Regions from separate parts of the Homo sapiens genome. Here region 1 is linked to region 2. The links are contacts of gene promoters, found by promoter capture Hi-C in blood cells and fetal thymus (Javierre and others, 2016). All regions are on one chromosome and are shown on one strand. The core of a region is centred on a gene start or on the middle of the fragment in contact, and the rest is flanking DNA. Distances in the headings are between cores, read along the strand shown. Region 1 has its middle 62 kb from the start of MAPRE2. Region 2 holds the start of INO80C (INO80 complex subunit C).

Region 1 (4,196 bases), core at 249-2,748, 520 kb before region 2:
GACCCTCCAGGCTCTAGCTGGGGCGCCGGCACTGAGAGAGCTGGGGGCTCTGGCAGGGGCTGCGCGCTTGGGGGCAGATCAGGAAGTGCAGCGCGCTGGCGCTCGCGCGCTTGGGAGCATCCCCTGGACCCCGGGCACTTCCCCTTCGGCAGCCACCACTCTCCCACTCCGACGCCGGCCACCATCCGCGCTCCCGGGACTCAGGAGCCGGGTGGGTGCAAAAGGAAGCGGGTTGTTATTCTGCGCCCAAGCATCTCTTCTGCAGGGAGCCCCGGGAGCGCAGGGCGAGGGCTACTCAGCGACTTCGCACTCGGCTTAGTGGGAAATTCTTCGGTCTACCCTTAGAAGGGCTATGCGGAAGCCAGAAATCCCACAAAGAGCCAGGAGAGGGGTGGACGCGGAAAGCGGTCCCCTCTGAACCTGGGGCGCTCGATAAAGCTGATTTTCAGACCCCAAAAGGGCTAGTGGGTTTGGTCACTCCTCCAGTGACTTCGTCAATACAGTGCCAAGGGCAGAGCCGTAACCTCGGAGAAGGGGCGCTGCAGCCATTTGATCAGGAGAAGCCTTTGTCTTAACCCCCAAGCCCCTCCTGCTAGTCCTCGCTGGGTCAGTAGCGCTGGGAGTAATTAATATTACGAACATTAGCCTTTCCTTCACCTCCGCACCAGCCAACACTGCTGTCCCCTCCCTGATTGTCTTCTCTATCACTTGTTCACATCTCCTTTTCCAAAAAAAGAAGAACAAAAGGAAAATAGTGTAGACCCGCTAGGCAGGAAGAGGTCACTAAAAATACTATCGTGCTGTCAATGTAGAATGAAGGGTTAAGCGCTCAAACCCGCGCCCGCGCGCACCGAAACGGAAGAACTTCCTTGATTAGCATAGTATCGACCCTGGGGCCGCGCTGCGAGGCGGAGGTTCGGTCCCAGCTGGGGTGAAGTGTGCAGACCGGTTGCGATTGTGGTCAGACGCAGCACCTACTTCTAATCTGAGGACCCGCGATTTACACTTTTGCTGAATAGGACACTGTGGAATGAAACAGAACAGAGATCAAAAGGTAATCTGAAGAATGGCAACATTTCCCCTGCTTCTCCTGAACGCTAAATTTGGCCAAATTTTTATCAAGCAAAAAGGGGTATGGCTCTTGGTTAGCCAGTGTCCCCTCTGGAAATGAAATGCTTCCTTACTTTGCTTTCGTTCTTTTCTGCCAAACTGATTAAAGACATCAGTTAGGGGTAAGATAAGAGGTCCGGGAGCTCACCGAGTGATTGGTAGATAAGCTTAACTGGTAAATTTTCCTTGCGTGGGTAGAGCTATGCTTCTTCAAAGCACTGGTTCTCAAATTTTGCTGCATAGTGGAATCATCTGGGGAGCTTTGAGAACTCCTGATGTCCTGATCACATCCCAAACTATTTAAATCAGGTTGTTTGGGAGTGAGAAATAGGCACAGTATTTAAAAGCAAAAACAACTCCTGGTAACTTCATTGTGCAGCCAAGTTGGGGAAACTCTACAGCAAAGGAAGAGTTCAGCGGCCAGCAGCAGCAGGCATTGCAAGACAAGATGCCACTTTAACTACTTGGGTGGGTGAGAGAAAAGACGCTGAAACTGGAGTGCCGATGACTAACACCCTGGGGCGGGGAACTGTCATCTAGCAGCCTAGCTGGTGGTGACACCTACCACAACATTTTTCCCTTCCCTGGCTAGGGTCTGATTGGAAAAATCGAAGCTTACTTCAATGCCTGGTTTCTGCACTGTTGTTAAGGGAGACGGATAGAAACTTCCATTCCTGTGATGACTCATGTGTAGCAGTCAGTAGGAAAACCCAGCAGAAACATACTCCAGCAGCCTGGTGAGTCAGCAGGCTGCACAGCGATCCCAGTGAATAGGAAGTAATTACAGCGAGTAGTTTGTTGACACGCACAAACTGCACTCCTTTGAAAGCACATTTAATATCTGATCAGGATCTACTTGCTTGCAGGAGCCACTCCCTTTGTAGCACACCATTCTGCCTGTTTCATATAATGCTCTCTTCTGTTAGAAGGGGAAACACAAAGCTAACTAGACATCCTGTAACTTTCTTGGTGGGAAGCATGTAAAAAAAAAACTGTTGGGAAAGTGTAAACTGGTTTGGGTTATTTCAGTTATGTGAAGCAGAAAGGATGAATATGTAACACATAAATTTTGCATACAAAAAAGTCAAATACTACTTGATTATACATCCAGGAGTGAATTAAATGATCTATTTAAATAGAAATGGTTACACTTAACATTTTATATAAAACCTCATGTTGGCTATTAACCAAAGGTTTCTTGCCTTTAAAACTGTCATCCCAAAAGGATTACTCCAGGATAACCTGTTATCTCTGGTTCTCTGTATCTTTAACAGGTTATCTTAGAGTCATCAAAAAACAAACTTTCTTTTTCTTCTTTCAGTTTTAATACCTCTTCACTATTTTTAATATCACTATCACTCTCTGCACTGTTGTCTAAATGCTTTCTTCCCCTTCCTCAATTTCTTTTCTTTTCTTTTTCTTTTTCTTTTTTTCTTTTTTTTTTTTTTTTTTTTTTTGAGACAGAGTCTCACTCTGTTGCCCAGGCTGGCACGATTTCGGCTCACTGCAACCTCCGCCTCCAAGTTCAAGCGATTCTCCTGCCTCAGCCTCCTGAGTAGCTGGGATTACAGGCACACATCATCATGCCCAGCTAATTTTTGTATTTTTATAGAGATGGGGTTTCACCATGTTGGCCAGGCCGGTCTTGAACTCCTGACCTGAGGTGATCCACCCGCCTCGGCCTCCCAAACTGCTGGGATTACAGGAGTGAGCCACCACACCAGCCCTCAATTTCTTTAAGGAGGAAAAACAGTGTCTTGCACACAGCAAGCACTCAATATTTTTGGCCGTTGAACTTTATCTGAACCTCTCTTAGAGCATCTATTGTAGCCTGCTTGGTATTCTATTTTCTCATAGGGGCCTCAGTGTCTGTAGCCCCCAAAGCAGGGGCACAGACTCTGTTAGTTATTGATACTGCTTGTTCGTACTGAAGAGTATCAAAAGGTGGGGAGAACATTGAAAACCAAAGCATCCTGAGTACATTCAGTTTGCTGTTTTCCAAGACAGACATTCCAGATATATAGAAGCCAAAGTCCTGTCACAATTCTTACTTGCTATGATAGCTTATTTGTTCACTTACATTTCATACCCAACAATTTAGCATTTTGAGCATAACTAATAATTGTTATCACATTTAACCACACTCTAATGGGCCAAAACAATCACTTCACAAAATTTCACTCTCTACCCATTATTATGAAAAACCACATATGAATTTATTGAGCTAGGAGAAACATTGTAGAATAGATTAATAGTTAAATAGCTTTTATTTTCACCTGTGTATTGCCCATTAAAATAGCATAAGTACATTTAAATAGCCACCATATTAAAAGTAAGAAGTTGGATGTATTTTGTGATAAGTACAACCAAAACTAAATGTTAATAAGAATTTCCAAAGACCAAAATGATATAAATGCATTCATTCTCACTTCTTTGTAGCTTAGAAAAAGAACTGGGGAGGCACTTCTGAAATGTTAACACCTTTTTGGGAGGCATAAGAGATAAAGTAGTTTAGAAAAATAGAATTAACTTTGGGAGGCCGAGGCGGGTGAATCACCTGAGGTCAGGAGTTCAAGACCAGCCTGGCCAAACATGGTGAAATCCCGTCTCCACTAAAAATATGAAAATTAGCCAGCCAAGGTGGCACACACCTGTAGTCCCAGCTACTCGGGAGGCTGAGGTGAGAGGATCGCTTGAATCTGGGGAGGCAACAGAAGTTGCAGTGATCTAAGATTTCACCACTGCACTCCAGCCTGGGGGACAGAGAGGGAGATGCCATCTTAAAAAAAAAAAAAGACTAATCGGATTACTCCATATTAATCAGAAACTATTTCTCAGAGTATGATATATACCTAGCTCTGTAATATTTACAAGTAGCTAAAAGGGGTAGAGTAGAAGAAAGTGTGTCATCTCTATTTTATAAGCTCTAAAGTGTTTGAGAACAGACGAGAACCACCCAGTCTTATTACCTTAAATTTATATAGCCCTTTGGTCTTACTAACATATCAGGGCTTAATCATAATTGGGTAAATGGTATTCCCAGGTGCCAAATTACACAAGTGAATCCAATAAGTTAGGTGATCCTG
Region 2 (4,078 bases), core at 587-3,086:
TGTATGCCTACCTTCTGACTCAGCAATTCCACTACTTCTCAAGAGAAATGAAAGCATCTATCTACACAAAGACTTGTACAAGAATGTTCAGAGCAGCTTCTGCACAAAGCCAAAAACTGTAAACGTTCAAATATTCATCGGGTGTATGTTTATACAATGCAACAGATGTACTAAACGACTCTCAAAAACATTGTCTCAAAAAGGAACCTAGACAGATGCAAAAGAATATGTTCCCTATTGTCCTGTATTATTCCATTTATATTATGTTCCAACCCAAAGTCAGTCTATTGTGAAGGGTGGCTGAACAGTGGGTAACTGTTAGGAAGGAAAGACAGTACTGACAGGAAAATGTCACCTGCTCTTAGAAATGCTATCTTGATCCAGGCAGTGGCCATAGGTGTATACAAATGTAAAAGGGCACTGGATCTGTAGTTTTGTTTTGTTTTGTTTTGTTTGCGATAGGCTCACTCTGTTGCCCAAGCTGGACTGCAATGGCACGATCATAGCTCGCTGTAACCTTGAAATCTTGGGCTTAAGTGATGCTCTTGTAGTTGGGACTAAAGGCGTGCACCATCACGCCCAGCTATTTGTAAATTTGGATGGGGGTTGGGGAGCAGGTCTCGAACTCCTGTCCTCAAGCAATCCTCTCACCTTGGCCTCTCAAAGTGCTGGGATACAGGCGTGAGACAGGATTCTTGAAGATCTGTGGTTCAGCCAGTATTCTTGAAAATTTGTGCATTGTACTCTGTGTAAATCTTACTATAGCAAAGTATTTAATATTAAAAGGTTAAAATAAAAAGCACTACCAATCACCTACAGAAGAAGGAACAAGATTTCTAGAACAGCCACTGACTGACTGGGTGAACGGTGGTGTCACACCATATGCTGAGGAGCACAAAGTAACACACTCTATCTCTGCTTTTTTGCTTTGAATAAAATGCAGGAGCCAGAGAAAACACTAATCAAGCCACTCCCTGCTGAAAATTCATTGCTGGAATTACGGAACCTAGATTGTTCAGAGGCCCTGACGTCTGAGCCAGGCGCTGAGCTCAGTGCCTTTACACTCATTACTTCATAACCTTAACAAGCCCATGAGTTAAGACCAAACCTGCCTTTGGATTGGGAAACCCAGGGTCAAAAAAGCACTTTTCTCAGGATGAGAGAAAGCATACTTATCAATACATCTTGTATTCATCCATGCAGGACATTACAGCGCTATGCGCCTCAAAGACACTGGGTAGATGTCTGCAGAATGGACGAGGGGAAGACACGCAAATTTCTGAATGACTGACACTCATTAGTCCTGAACCTCATGCTAAAGGCGACCTCGAGGGGAAGAGGCAGTCCTTCTATTAATACTAAGTCAGTAATAACCTCCCTACTTCTTCTTCTCTCCTTACAACACAAGGCGTTGTAAGCCCATGTGTCCAAACGAAGGGAAAGAGTAGTCATTCACTCCGCGGGGCAGCGTCTTTCAACCCCAACGGAGACCGCACGCGCAGCGCCCCACATTACGCACGCGCCCTGGCTCGGCTCCGCCCCGCCAAGTCCCGTTTCGCGACGCGCACGCGCAGCCTGGGAGCGCGACTGCGTACCTGCGCAAAGCTGGAAGCGGACGCTTTTTTCTTCTTACTGGCGCCATAGCCCCCGCCGCTGCTGCCATTGTGGGAAGGGCTGGCCGGCCTCTTCTTGCTGTTCCGGACTATTCCGGGAGTGGAAGTGGTGGCCACAATTGGAATTTGCGCCGCCATCGCACTCCGAGTCTTCCCCTGGTCCCCCCACCTTTTTCCCAGCGCGGGCCTTGGAACTTCCTTTCCGCTGTTACTTCCGTCTTGATGCTTGAAAACCCGGCCTGGACTCCAAGCTGTAGCTGGCTTCTCTCGGTGCAATCTAAAAGGCGGAGCTCGGAGTAGCCTGTGCCGTCGGGACGGGAAGATGTCAGCGGGCGTTGTCCTGCCACTCGGGCGCTCTGGGCGTGGGCCTTGGGTGGGGCACGTGCCTGGAAATCCCCATTGATAGAGGAATAGAAAATCTCCCAATCTTTTTAAGTAACTACGTTTTAAAAAATTAATGAGCGTGTTGTCTTTTCTCATATAGAAGAGTGATTACTTTTGATGTCTGTAAGCCTAAAGCTGGGGTCGTTCTCAGTAGACCGCCAAGCTACTGGCTTCTCCCTCTATCCCTCCCTGCCTTCCCACGCGGAAAAGGTTTGTATATAAATAGCGCCCAAATGGACATGAAGGGTAGAGTGGTTCTTAATCTCTCCCTTTTTTTTTTTCTTTTATTTGAGACGGAGTTTCGCTCTTGTTGTCCAGGCTGGAGTGCAATGGCGCGATCTCGGCTCACTGCAAACTCCGCCTCCCGGGTTCAAGCGATTCTCCTGCCTCAGCCTCCCGAGTAGCTGGGATCACAGGCATGTGCCACCATGCCCGGCTAATTTTGTATTTTTAGTAGAGACGGGGTTTCTCCATGTTGGTCAGGCTGGTCTCGAGCTCCCGACCTCAGGTGATCTGCCCGCCTCGGCCTCCCTAAGTGCTGGGATTACAGGCGTAAGCCACCACGCCCGGCCGGTTCTTAATCTCTTAGGATTCACAGACTCTTGAGCATGGAATCTGTGCTTCCTATCCCTGCCGCACACCCCCACCTCCCCACCACCCCATTAAATGTATACAGACACAGACAAAATTTTACAGATTTCAGGGAGGTCACAGATCTACTAAAACCTATTTAGGAACCTGAGTCCCCCTACCCGCCTTGTTCTTTGCCTCATTCTACCCTATATTTTTACAGAACCTTTGCGACATCATATAACTAAATGATTTATAATCGGATGGTTAATGTCTTTTTTGGCTCCTGCTAGAATGTAATCTGTATGAGGGAAGGGTCAGTTATGTCTTGTTAACTTATCAGTCCCCCCAATCACAGTACCTTGCAAGTCATTGGTGCATTATAAGTATTTTTAATGATGTATTTAACGAATGAACTAACTCCCTGCAGTGATTGGTGGAAGCTACTATGTTTGAATACAGGAAGTTGATGTATATGAGTCTTGATATTTGAAATAAACAGGCTGCACAATGACTTAGAGGTGAGAGAGAAGGAGCAGTTAGGGAAACTTGCAATATTGTTACTGACATATTTTTTCCTTTAGAGAAAGGAATAAGCCTACCAGTGTTGAAATGTTCTTTCCCACACCCCATCTCCATCCCTATCCTCATCTAAAGCTAGTCTTTTCCTCATTCCTTAACTCAAGGACTCACCTCCAACAAGCCAGTCACCTAAGCAAACTCTACTGTCCCCACCTCCTCCCATTCCTCACCTCCTCAGCTCGCTTCTCTCCTTCACGGCTCCTGCCCTGGTGAATCTGTATCCCATGTCTACATCTCAGCAACAGCCTCCAGATGGACGTTTCGGCCGCCATCTTTCCCTTATCCATTCCTGACCCCAGACCATCCTTCACACTGGCTGCCAGAATGGGATTTCTAAATTACAAATATAATCATACCACTTACTTTCTTACATTCTTCAGGGCCCTTTTGCCTTCAGGGTAAAATTTTTTTTTTACCTTCAGGGTAAGAACGTTTTGGCTTGTCATACAAGGTCCTTAATGACTGGGCTCTGGGCCGGGCGCGGTGGCTCACACCTGTAATCCCAACACTTTGAGAGGCTGAGGCGGGCAGATCACAAGGTCAGGAGATAAAGGCCATCCTGTCCAACACGGTGAAACCTCGTCTCTACTAAAAATACAAAAATTAGCTGAGTATGGTGGCATGCGCCTGTAATCCCAGCTACTCAGAAGGCTGAGGCAGGAGAATCGCTTGAACCCGGGAGATTGCAGTGAGCAGAGATCGTGCCACTGCACTCCAGCCTGGCAACAGAGCAAGACTCCGCCTCAAAACGACAACAACAACAACAACAACAACAACTGGGCTGTGCCCCATTCTGTTGCTTGGTTCCCAACACTTAATTCCTTGTGTTCCAGCCAAGGACTAACTCTATTTCCTAGAATGTATATGTTTTCTTAGCTTGTCATATTTTTGTTTCTATTATTTCCTCTCCTGGGAATGCTTAGCTCCTT

The links. Contacts are between HindIII fragments. The CHiCAGO score rates a contact against its expected background, and 5 or more counts as called.
Region 1: a fragment that was not itself captured here is called in contact with the fragment with the promoter of INO80C in region 2 in 1 of 17 cell types (activated CD4 T cells); the score reaches 5.2 in activated CD4 T cells.

What each region holds. Positions count from the first base shown.
Region 1 is chr18:34,977,488-34,981,683 of GRCh38, forward strand. It overlaps a transcript of MAPRE2 not described here. Among named protein-coding and RNA genes, the nearest start is that of MAPRE2, 62 kb to the right of the region's middle. RefSeq lists enhancers at 434-935, 780-1,979, 936-1,435. The HindIII fragment of the contact is 447 bases long and covers 1,276-1,722 here.
Region 2 is chr18:35,496,124-35,500,201 of GRCh38, forward strand. It overlaps INO80C (INO80 complex subunit C), which reads right to left and starts at 1,837. Exons shown (of 5, transcript NM_194281.4): 1 at 1,596-1,837. The coding sequence starts at 1,751. RefSeq lists enhancers at 855-1,004, 1,275-1,394, 1,745-2,014. The HindIII fragment of the contact is 4,638 bases long and covers 1-4,078 here.